2 separate regions of the Homo sapiens genome follow, and region 2 is linked to region 1. The links are contacts of gene promoters, found by promoter capture Hi-C in human tissues and cell types (Jung and others, 2019). All regions are on one chromosome and are shown on one strand. Each heading gives the region's core, a stretch centred on a gene start or on the middle of the fragment in contact. The rest is flanking DNA. Distances are from core to core; before and after follow the strand shown.

Region 1 (6,220 bases), core at 2,024-4,523:
ACTGAAAGGCCTAAAGGGCTCCCTCTTAAGGCACCAAAGGTAAACCAAAGGGTGACCTATATGCCCCTCCAAACTCCAATCTGGACCCCAGAAGCTGCCCCAACACTCCTTTCTTTCTGTCCTGACCCCACTCCTGCAAAGGCCTTCAAACCAGCCTCGGTAGGCCTAGTCCCCACGTGCATATTGATTTGCCCCCAGAGACTGATGGCTCCCTCCTGCCCCAGCCAAGTGACCCCAAGCTTGAGGTCTCCTCCTGCCCCTCTTCCGGTCAGGGCAACCCTCTCAACACTTGCCTCCATGTCCCACCAGAGCAAGGACCAAAGAGAGCCAGGACGAATAAGTCCCCCAAGACAGACGCAAGCCCAGACCATGAAGGATGCACCCTTGGCTGTTAAAACGTTCACCCCCACAAAAGGGGAGTGGACAGATTTATTGAAATCAAACTGGGAAAGGAGCAGCTGGACGGCTGGACTCTGGGCCCAGCCCCAGGCCCCTCTGCCCAGGATGGGGCCCTGCCAGAGAGGGAGGAGAGGCATGGGGCCTGCAGCTGCCCACAAGGAAGCGCCCTTGGTTACTTCCACGGTGGGGGGCCTCTTGGAAACCTCCAATCTGGAAAGAAAACCAAGGGCCAAAGTCACATGGACAGGGCCAGAGAAAGGGACTGGGGAGGTGGAAAGCAGGCAGAAGCAGGCTCAGGAGCCCGCAGTGAGTTAAACTGTGCTTCTCAAGGCGGCCTGGGGGGTGGGGGTGGGGGCTGCCAGCCTTGCAGGGGGCCTAGGCTGGACCTTCTTCTGGAGCCCTTCCCAGAATGGCTTTGGGGTCCCCCCACCAAAGACCTGACGTGGATGGCAGAGGGGAGAGGCACTCTCCGGCCGGGAACCTCCAGGGCCCATCCCTGGCTGCTGCTGTGGTTAGTCCACTGAGGGCACGGTGTGGTAGCACCGGACAGCTCCCCACCCGCCCCACCTGGTCCCCTGAGCCCAGGGCCAAATGGGGAGGAAAGAGGATTCTGAGAAAGAGGCAATAAGCAGGCAGTGAGGCTGACCTCAGCCCCGGGCCCGGCCGAGGTGACCGGGCCTGTTGCAGGACCAGGGGAAGCATTACTAAAGGATCTGGGGCTCTGCACTCTGGCTCCATGCACAGCGGGTGCCCAGAGAGTCCTCTGCCCTGGGGTGGTGCTGCCAATCTAGGTTGGGGGCACAGCTAGGTCCAGTGACTCAGCTTTGATGTCCAAGACCTCGAACTCCCGCCTGCCTGGCGTGGTTCTTCCTGGTCACATGAACCAGATCGTGTTCCAAGTGGAGGATGTGGCTCTGCACGCGGTCATCAATGGGGAAGGAGGTCAGGTACCTCTTGACCATGGCAAAGTAAGCCATGGCCTCCCCAAAGCTGGGTACAGGCACCTCATCACCATCCTCCTCATCATCATCGTCGTCTTCATCTTCATCATCCTCTTCCTCATCGTCCTCTTCCTCACTGTCTGAATCAGAGTCCTCCCCACCTTCCAGGAAATGCAGAGTAGGGCACTGGGCTTCCTCCTGGGCACCATAAGCCCCGAAGCTGCCACCGGCCTCCACTACTCCCTGGGCCCAGTCCTCAGCCTCCAAGCCCTCCGAGGAGCTCTCCTCATCTTCCTCCTCTTCTTCATCACTATCAACATCACCCTCCTCCTCCACCTCCTCTTCCTCCCCCAATTCCTCTCCTTCCCCCCCTTCCTCCTCCTCCTCCTCCCCTTCCTCCTCCTCTTCCTCTCCTTCACCCTCTTCCTCCTCCTCTTCTTCCTCCTCCTCCTCCTCTTCCTCTCCCTCACTCTTGAGGGAAGTGGTGATGGTGGCATTAGGGCCACCCCCAAAGCCAGCCTCACGAAAGCAGGCGGCTATGTCCGAAGGCTCCACTGCCTGCCAGGCGGCAGCCACAAAGTGCAGGGCCTCCGTGAGACCCAGCTGCAGGCCTGAGGGATCCTGGCCCTCTAGCGCGGCCATGGCCTTGAGCAGCATGGCCTGGCGGTAGTGGCCCTTCACCTGCTGGACCACTCCCCTCTCCAGCGGATGCACGGTGCCGGGAGGGAAGAAGGCCAGCTGCACATGCCGCAGGCCCGAGGTGTCCAAGGACTGGGCAGCCAAGCGGCCGGCCAACAGCAGGACCCGGCGAGACTCTGCAGCCATTCGGGTGTCCAAGGCCTTCAAGTACTTGGCCAGGGCCTGGGTGGTGACACCACCCTTGGAGTTGGCGGTGTAGTCGCAGGGCAGGCCGGCTTGGCCTGCGCGGGGCTTGGCCGACTTGCCGGCCACCAGCGGGGGCAGCTTCTCGCTGCCGTCGGCATTGGCGCATAGCAGGACGCTCAGGCGCTGGGTGGCTTGACGCGGCCGTCCGTCGCCTCCGCACAGCCCCGCGGCCTGGTCGGGCAGGAAGTCGTACCATAGACTGGTCTCGGTGGCGCTGAACACGTCCTGCGAGGCGTAGCCCTCGGCCACCGACGGCGGCTGCTCCTCCCGAGCGCGCCAACCAGTAGTGCTCCCGCCACTGCCCTCCGAGGGCACCGCGGCCGGACTGGCAGGCGCCGCCGGGGTGCGGGGGGCAGCGTTTCGCGCGCGGGCGCGGGCCACGCCGCTGCAGGACACCACGCCGTGGCGCCGGCGGAAGCGGTCCAGCCAGCCGTTGGAGGCGGTGAAGTCGTCCATGCCCAGCTCCTCGGCTATGCGCAGCGCCTTCTCCTTGAGGATGATGCCCTTGACCGGCAGGCCGGCGGCGCGGATCTGCTGGAACCAGGCGATGAGCAAGCCCTCGAGCTTGTCGTAGGGAGACAGCTTGTTGGTCTTGCGGCAGGTGGAGGCCACCCCGTACTTGCGCTCCGACGCCAGGATGGCGCGCTTGTTCTTCAGGATCGTGCTCAGCGTGGACGGCGGGATGTTGAAGCGCCGCGCGATCTCGCCCTTGCGCAGGTCCGGATTCTCCTCCACCTCCTGGATGATCCGTGACTTCTCCCGGAACGTCAGCTGTCGCCTCTTGGGGCCCATCCCGGCGCGCCCCCCGCCCCGGGGCCCGGCGCCGCCGCCGCCGCCCCGGGGCGGGGGGCCCGGGCCCGTGGCGGGGGGCACCTGGCGGCCTCTCCCGCGCGCCCCGCCCGAGACAAAGCGGCTCGCGGGCGCGGCGGCGGGGCGACGACCCGGCCGGGCCGGGGGCACCTCCGGGGACGCCGGCGGGCGCGTCGCCGGGCGGCGGGCGGCAGGCGACGGGCGCAGACGAGGGCGGGCGGCGCGGGCGCGGAAGGCAGGAAGTGCCGCGGCGCGGGGAGCTGGGAGCGCGGCGAGCGGGGCGGAGCGGGCGGAGCGGGATCTCGCGGGAAGCGCGGGGACGCCCGGCGCCTCCTCCCCGCCCTCCGCGCCCACCCCCTTCCCGCCGCCGGGACATACCGCGGGGGGGCGCTGCGGCCTGCTGGACCTGCCCGTGCTGCGGCCTCCGGCGACCCGGCAGCGACGCGGGCGGGGACGCGGTGCATCGCTACTGCGCCCGGCGGACAGCGACTTGCTGCTCAAAAAGAATAAGAACCAGGGTTTTTGTTTGTTTTTTTTTTTTTTAATTAAGGTAAAAATAACGCACTTTTTTTTTTGCGGAACCTGAAAAATTCAAGAAGTTGAAAAACGCTTTTCACGTCACCTGGAGAGATGCACAGGTAACATTTTGATACATTTCCTTCCAGTCTTTTCTCTAGATGCATGTCGTTTTCTTTTTAAAAATTTATTATATAAAACTGGCATCAGACTGTATAGACTGTATATCTGGCATCTCCTGCTGTTTTACCTGGCATCAAGTAGTGAGAATTTTGCCATATCGGTAAGTATCATTGCCAACACGCTTTTTAATGATTGTGTAGCATTCCAGCTATGAATGAACACTAGCGTATGTAACCTATTGTTACACACTTAAGTTATTTTTAAAATCAGCATTACAGTTGTAAATCTATTTGATGGTGCTAATGACATTTTTAAAGTTCTAGTAATCCCACAACCCATAGATAAACACTCATAACATCTTGGTGTGTCACTTTCTGGGCTTTTCCATGCATATAGCCATAAATGTATGTGTTTGCACTTACAGAAATAACATCATGTATATACATAAGTGTGAATCCCTGAAGCCTCCCTCTCCTGCAGCAAAACATTAAAATGCCAAGCTCTTAAAACAATGAATGTATAGCTGTGTTTTTAAAAATCTCTTAGGGCAGCACTAAGGGGAACTCCAGCATTGGCAGAGGGGAAGGCTGTGACCCAGGGGGACAGGCTGAGGACCTGGGGCTGGATGAAGCTGTGGGTGAGTGTAGACAAAGAAGAAAAGAGGACCAAGGACAGTGCCCTGGGTCCTCCAAGGTTAAGGGCTCAAGAAAGAGGCCAGGTGCAGTGGCTCACGTCTGTAATCCCAGCACTTTAGGAGGCCGAAGCAGGCGGGACCACTTGAGATCAGGAGTTCAAGACCAGCCTGGCCAATATAGTGAAACTCCGTCTCTACTAAAAATACAAAAAATTAGCCAAGTGTGGTGGCACTCACCTGTAGTCCCAGCTATTCGGGAGGCTGAGGCAGGAGAATCGCTTGAGCCTGGGAGGCAGAGGTTGCAGGGAGCCAAGATCATGCCACTGCACTCCAGCCTGGGCAAAAGAGTGAGACTCCATCTCAAAAAAAAAGAAAGAAAGAAAGAAAGAACCAAATAGAGACTCTTGAAGTGGAGGAGCCCCTGAAGCAGGAGAAAAACCAGGCTACTGTGGCATTCTGGAAGCCAAAGGAAGAAAGTGTAACTCACTGCTGTTTTAGTGCAAATTTCTGTTTTCGTATGTTTCTTGGCCATTTGAATCCTGTGAATTTTCTAGTCATATCCTTTGACCATGTGTTTGTCTTTTTCTTGACTTTTAGGAGCTCTTTACATGCTCTGAAGAAAAGATCTTGTTAAGTATGTTGCAAATGTTTTCTCCCTGTCTGCCACTTGTCTAAGTTAGTTTAGGGAATCTTTTGGATATGAGAAGTTTTTAATCTTCAACCTGTCAATTTTTTCCTTATTGCTTCGGGGTTTTGTGTCTTACTTAGAGAGGACTTCCCTATCCCTGAGATATAAAAGATATTCTTTTAATCTCAAGGTCCAAAAGAACACGTGGGAGACTTTTCCAGAGCACTGCTTGGCCCAAGAGGAGTGTGTGGTCACTGGGCAAAAATGAATCTAAGATTACCTGGATGAGAACTCCTTGCCATGCATCTTTTCTTTCTTTCCTCTCTTTCATCCTTTTCCTTGTTTCTTTCCTTCCTTCCTTCCCTTCTTTCTTTCTCTTTCTCTCTTTTCCTTCCTTTCCTTCTTTCTTTCCTTCCTTCCTTCCCTTCTTTCTTTCTCTTTCTCTCTTTTCCTTCCTTTCCTTCTTTCTTTCCTTCCTTCCTTTCTCTTCCTTTCCTTTCCTTTCCTGTGGCCCCTCCTTAGTGCCATACAAAGGGCATTGGCACAATTACTTCTAGGACAGAAAAGCCACGCCCATCATATGCTGATGTCATAGCCATTTCCAGATACCTCGTCTACCCTTTGCCTGTAGCAGTGCACGGGGCCCATTTCCATCCCCTCTCAAGTGACCATTTCCCCCAGCAATCCATCTGAGGCCCCGGGCTTCCCCACCTCTTTCTGTAAGTCCCAGCTTTCTGCTTTTAGGACTGTTTGGGAAATCCATAACTCACCTTCTCTTCTTTTGGTCCAGCCTGCCCAGAGCTGTCCTTCAGGCCCCTCAGCAAGCTTTCCATTCTCCTTTTGTTTATTTGAGACAGGGTCTAGCTCTGTCACCCAGGACGGAGTACAGTTGCACGATCATAGTTCATTGCAGCCTCAGTCTCCTCAGTAGCTAGGACTACAGGCATGAGGCACCATGCCTGGCTAATTTTTAATTTTTTTTTTTGAGACGGAGTCTCACTGTGTTGCCCAGGCTGGGAGTGCAGTGGCGTGATCTCAGCTCACTGCAACCTCCTCCTCCCTGGTTCAAGCAATTCTCCTGCTTCAGCCTCCTGAGTAGCTGGGATCACAGGTGTACACCACCATACCTGGCTTAGTTTTGTATTTTTAGTACAGACAGGGTTTCACCATGTTGGCCAGGCTAGTCTCAAACTCCTGACCTCAAGTGATCTGCCTACCTTGGCCTCCCAAAGTACTAGGATTGCAGCCGTGAGCCACCTCACCCGGCCAAAAAATAATAATAAA
Region 2 (6,220 bases), core at 1,861-4,360, 890 kb after region 1:
GGGTCATGTGGGCCAAATTAACTCAATTCCTGGACAAAAACTATTTCCCCGACCACCCCAAGCTTCTTGCCAATGTGCGCCCTTGGGACAAGAAAGGCTAGGAGAAGCTGTGGACAAATTAAGATAAACCTGGCAATATCATTAGACAAATAACCCAAAGTGAATCCCTCTTCTGATGGTCAACATCAGATGGTCACACAGAAATGTTATTTTCCTATGAGTAATTTTGCATTATTGTTACATATGATTTCCACTTACAAATGCCACAAATATTATGCAAGTACCTCTCTACTGGGAAGGAATATAACAATTCTAACAAATAAACATAAAAGCAGTGTGTACATAAGAATGCCTCTATACAATTTTTTGAGCATCAAAATCTTAGAAAGTTGAAAAATACCAATGAAATATAGCATTCTTATTCTTTCTCATTTCTTTTATCTGTTCTTTAGAGAAAAAAAGATGGAGCAGAAAGCAAGAAAATTGTCCAACAGAATTATTGCAACTGACTTAGTTTCTTATAAACAAAGAATGCATTGAAAGAGAAAACCTTGCCTCAGCAAAGTATATTACACAATAAGAAAGAAGAATTTCAAAGATAATAGAGATAATTTCTCACAGATGTCTGACCAGAAAGAAATTCTCAACTTTCTAAACTTTTCTATCATAATTTCACATATTTCTCTGGTTCATTTATAAAGGGAAAATAACTTGAGAATATTCCAAGATGAATACATCAGCACTCACATAGGTAACCAGAAACATGGGGTGTTAAATCAATTACAGGAGCAGCTGGGTTCCTTATCCAGATAAGACAGCGAAAAAAGACCAAGAAGCCAGTAGCCGGTGACTTTAAAAATTGTTCGAATATGCTTCCTCCTCACTTTGTCTCTTGAGGTTCTTTGTAAAAGCCAGGGTTTCACAATTAACTTTACAGCAATCAAAAAGCTTTAATCAGTCACTAAAACAAATGCTATTTTCACTTATCAAATTGGTAATAATTAGGAAAAAAGTGATAATATCATGCTGGGATATTCAGAGCACGCTTTTGTGGGAATCTAAATTGGTGCAACCACTTTGGCTGCATGCCTCAAAAGCTTAAAAATATGCCCATCTTTTCTGCACCTTCTACTCCTGACAACTTATTTAACTACAGGGATGTTCTTCCCAGCTATGTGATATACAGCCATTAAATGGCTGAATACTATGCAGCCATTAAAATATTGTTGCAGAATATATTGTGATATGGGGTGGAGGTGGAGCCTAGCTCAAAAATTATGATTGTATTTGGGTAAGGAAAAATTATATGTATACATAAAAGTAATATGAAGGGGATAGACTTATGAATATTTTATAAATATTTTAGATATTTTCTTCATTTTCTTTTATTCTTTTCTTTAGTCTTATCTATATTTTCTAATATGTCTATTTGATATGTATTGCTTTTACAAGAAAAAATAACTTCAATGATCCTATAAAAGGAGGAGAGAGTGGGGAGCAAGTGTTTTAAATACTGCGACATGAGGCTGTGAAAGCTCTCAGAATCAAAATGAAGTCACCTATGTTAAAAATCCCAACAAACAGAGCCAGACGAGACCTTGAAGAGAGGGTTGTCATGTACAAAAACTATTGCAAGACTGCAAAAATCACAACCTTGCACAAAGTCCATCTCAACCTTACGCAAAAAAATACCTCTACAAGGACATCTGCCCAGCAACTGCCTGTCCAACCTCAGACTGGTGCTACCCTCGTTATTGAACCTTGTAGTCAAGGATAATTAACCCAAAACAGTTATGTAACCCTCCTTATTTTTCCTCTAAAAACCCTTGTCTTCCTTTACCTCCCTGAATAGGTACATAGTGTATTATAGTACATGCATTTCCATCGCAATGCCTATTCCCAAATAAATATCATTTTCTTTTCAAAATGTTTGTTATTTAGGTTGACAAGGCCTGGCTGCCCACTCCGTGGTGGTTGCCATCTGTTGCTTTATTATAACAAACTTCATTTAACTCAAGCCAGGCTGAGTGGCTTTCTTTATCTTGCTATCGATGCTCCCTAATACTCTAACCCCAACTTTGTATCATCTGGAATCCGGAGATATTTTTTAGCCAAACAAGAAACCCACATGTTGATTTGTAACATTTCAGCAGCACCACCTGCATCACCAAAGACTTTGAGACTTATGGAAATAAATTCAAATCCTCAACATCTGGAATGGTTGAGACACATGTATAAAGAACAGAAATTTATTTCTCACAGTCCTGGAGGCTGGGAAGTCCAAAATCAAGACTCTGGCATGTTTGGTGTCTGGTGAGGGCTGCTCTTTGCTTCCAAGATGGCACCTTGATGCTGCATCGTCTAGCGGGGAGGAACAGTGTGTCCTCACATGGCACGAGGCAGAAGGGCAAGAGGGCCAGACGCTGCTGTGTGAAGCCTCTTTTAAAAGGGCCTGAATCCCATTCACAAGGAAAGAATCCTTGTGACTGAATCACCTCTTAAAGCCTCCACTTCCTAATACTGTCCCATGGGCCATTAAGTTTCAATGCCTGGGCCGGGTGTGGTGGCTCACACCTGTAATCCCAACACTTTGGGAGGCTGAGGCGGGCAGATCACCTGAGGTCAGGAGTTTGAAACCAGCCTGGCCAACATGGCAAAAACACTGTCTCTACTAAAAAATACAAAAATTAGCCGGGTGTGTTGGCACGTGCCTATAATCCCAGCTACTTGGGGGGCTGAGGCAGGAGAGTCACTTGAACCCGGGAGGCAGAGGTTGCAGTGAGACAAGATCATGCCACTGCACTCCAGCCTGGGGAACAGAGCGAAACTCCGTCTAAAAAAAAAAAGTTTCAATGCCTGGATCTTGGAGGGGACACATTCAAACCGTAGCACCATTTTATATTATTTGTGGATTAGGGTTAATACTTTGTCATCTCAGACAAACCATTTCTAAGAAGGTAGAGGTTTGCGTGTGAGGCTTGAGCCACAGGTATGACACTCCATTGTCATGCACAAATTGTTACTTCCTTAAGATATGATCCAACAGACCTGGAGACCTGAATGCATTTAACACAAATGAAAGTTTCTGCCTCCTCCCTCAGCCCATTTGAGCTTCCATTTCCCTCTGACCCAGTGCGCATTCTACCCTTTGCAGTCTCAAGATGCTTCTCCCTGGCAGAAAAATCAAAAGCAAAATATGAACAAGTATAAGCCAGAATTTTCAGAGTAACTTTCCAGATTGCTTCAAATGGCAGCATTTCCAATCCTGGTTTGTCTCATTTGCTTTATTCAATAAAAGAACAAGAACAAGAACAAGAAAAAAAGAACACTACTGTGTATGAGCTTTGACATCACTTCTGACCATTTTTACTTTCATGTTGTTAATTTTGCCATTTGATTTTGTTTCCATTACATGCTATTAACTTCTGTTCAGATGTCACTCATTTAAAAATGTGGGGGTATTTCCCATTGTTGTCCCAGTCAGGCAATTATAACTTAACCTAAAGACAGCCCTGCTCTCAGGTCAGCCTTGCCATAAAGTCCGATTCAAAGAAATAACAGTCCATCAGAAAAATGAAAACCATTAAAATCTTTGTGTGTCTCTCAAGAAAATACCACAGGATGAGTAAACAAAGCTGAAAACAAGATAGAGAATAGAGTCTCTCAAGAAAATACCACAGGATGAGTAAACAAAGCTGAAAACAAGATAGAGGATAGAAGTTGATAGAGAGTTAGAATTTTAACATGTGACACGCCATTAGTAAGTGTTTTGAACACCAAGGGTTTGGAGGGAAAGAACTGTGTGGTCAGGACAGCAAGCCTGGAAGCTGACCCTGGCTGGCAACACTCAAAGTAACAAGACAAAGATCTAGCTGAGGGAGGAGGCTCAGAGGGCCTCAGGATGCTGCCATCCTAATGAAGAACAATCACACGGAGGGTGAAGGCAGTGTTCACCCTCTGTGTGAACACATCCTCCTAAGAGGATGCACTGCCCTCCTCCTAGAACACTGTGTGAGGGATCCCAGCTACCCAAGGTCCAGGAGCCACATGAAAGCTGCTTGAAGATGTCCCTTGCAAACCTAGCATCTGAGAATATGGACCCACAAAATACATTCATTAAGGAGAGGCCCATTTTATATAATGTACATTTACAAAGTTAATACACTTTTGACATATTTTCACACTTTTATTTCAAAAACATCTTGAATTACCTGCAAACTTTCAGGAACTCATCACCAACAAGGTCCATTCATGATGTAGTGGGAAATAACCACTGTGTAATGATAGCATAAGCAAATTCAGTTTTAATGAGAGGAAATAGGGGAAGAAAGTTGAAGATAAAACATGCTTCCTTTATAAATCCTTCTTTATTTTATTGTCCCCACTCCCAACCAACCCCCAAGGCCAAGTAAAGAGCTGGGAGTAAAAAGTTAGGGCACTGAAGATAGATTCGGGAGACGTCTGGGTTCCTCACCTGCTAATGCAGGACCCAGTTTCCTACAAAACAGCGTCTGCCTGTCCAAGGATTGTGGAAATACAGGTGTATGTTCCTGCATGTGTATCCAGGAAGAACAAGTCCCTTTCTCAGGCTCGAGCCCCTGGAGCCAGGCCCTCTTCATAGGCCACCCCACAGTCACCACCGTGGAGGTTCTGGAAGCCTCAGGATGCCCCAGGGACTTCCCACCCCCAAGCCAGGTAGTGCCCCAAGCATAAGTGAAAACACCCTTTTCACTCCTTTGTTTCCCTAGAAATCCAGCAGCTTCTAAGGTTCATGTGCTACAACTCTTTCCATTTTTAATATCCACACATGTGCAGGTGTGGTAATGGATCAACTACTGTGAGCAACTGGGGCTTCACCCCCCACAGAACATTCTACGAGATAGAGGGTGGTAGCACACTTCAGGTCATCCAGCTGCAAGAGTGAGGAGTTGGAGCATTTATCCACAGACTCCCATCTCCCACTGGGGAGAACTGCCCTGGGACCCCTGACACCACACACTTTGGGGGTGCTTCTAGGGGGAGTAGGGCAAGTTCAGATGATGCCAGAAAAAGTCCTCAGGCAGAGAAGAGAGAGGCAGGCATCAGGGTGGGAAGGCATCAGCATTCTGGAAGCCTTAGTTACAGGTGAACTCAGATGGGCCAAGGGGACACAGGACAAGGTATCGACAGCATCTGCCACAACTCTCTTGGGAGGTACACAAAACCAACTGAGTAAACATTTGTATTATTTCCTGGATATAGGAGCAATACATTTTACATAAAGATGATGATTCTTCACAAATTTATTCTTAAGTGCAATGCCATTTCAATAAAAAAACCCAACCATAGGTATCATGGAATTTGACAAGATTACAAAATTAATCTGGAAAGAGAAATAAGCAAGAATATCGGGCTGGGCACAGTGGCTCATGCCTGTAATCCCAGCACTTTGGGAGGCTGAGGCGGGCAGATCACTTGAGGTCAGGAGTTCGAGACCAGCCTGGGCAATACGGTGAAACCCAGTCTCTACTAAAAACACAAAAATTAGCTAGGCATAGTGGTGCATGACTGTAATCCCAGCTAGTTAGGAGGCTGAGGCAGGAGAATCGCTTGAACCCAGGAGGTGGAGGTTGCAGTGAGATTGTGCCACTGCACTCCAGCCTGGGTGACAGAGCGAGACTCCATCTAAGAAAAAAAAAATCAGAAAATATTCTGAAACAAAGAGAAAGTAATGGGTGATATGAGTCCTACCAGGCATTGAAGTGCATTATAAAGCCTTTACCTACCTCATGGATCTAATAAAGCAAGAAAGGAAAAGCCTCTCCTCACGTGGCATCCCCTCCCTTGGTTGTGTCAATTTGAATCACACTGATATGCCTTATGCGGAATCTACATAAAAAGAAACCTTTTAGGCACACACCGAGGAAGGGGCTGAATGAGGGTAGCTGCGGATCATTCACTGGTATCAGGGACAAGAAAATTACCATGGCCTCAGGAACTGCCAGTAAAGACACAGGAAGGTTCTGGTTCCCAGAAAAATAAAGTCAGAAGCCAAGCCCAGGGTGGGAACAAAGAAGATCAGAAAAAATCAGACCATTTCATAAAAGCTGTGATGCAGAAGAAGTCCAGTGGAGGAGGGCCCAAGTGCCACACAGGTTCCAGGTGATGCTGAAATTGTCTCGGGTAACTGAGATACCTCAGACCCGCCTAGACAGTTAGAAATGGCTAGAAAGAGAAAAGG

The links. Contacts are between HindIII fragments. The study calls those that stand out against the background at their distance.
Region 2: a fragment that was not itself captured here is called in contact with the fragment with the promoter of CENPB in region 1 in 1 of the 25 tissues and cell types used here (lymphoblastoid cells).

The regions. Positions count from the first base shown.
Region 1 is chr20:3,783,467-3,789,686 of GRCh38, forward strand. It overlaps CENPB (centromere protein B), which reads right to left and starts at 3,274. Exons shown (of 1, transcript NM_001810.6): 1 at 385-3,274. The coding sequence starts at 3,017. The coding sequence ends at 1,218. It also overlaps a transcript of CDC25B not described here. RefSeq lists enhancers at 1,970-2,680, 2,646-2,785, 2,681-3,390 and a silencer at 3,226-3,575. The HindIII fragment of the contact is 8,329 bases long and covers 3,001-6,220 here.
Region 2 is chr20:4,674,325-4,680,544 of GRCh38, forward strand. No RefSeq gene overlaps it. Among named protein-coding and RNA genes, the nearest start is that of PRNP, 9.0 kb to the right of the region's middle. The HindIII fragment of the contact is 5,211 bases long and covers 506-5,716 here.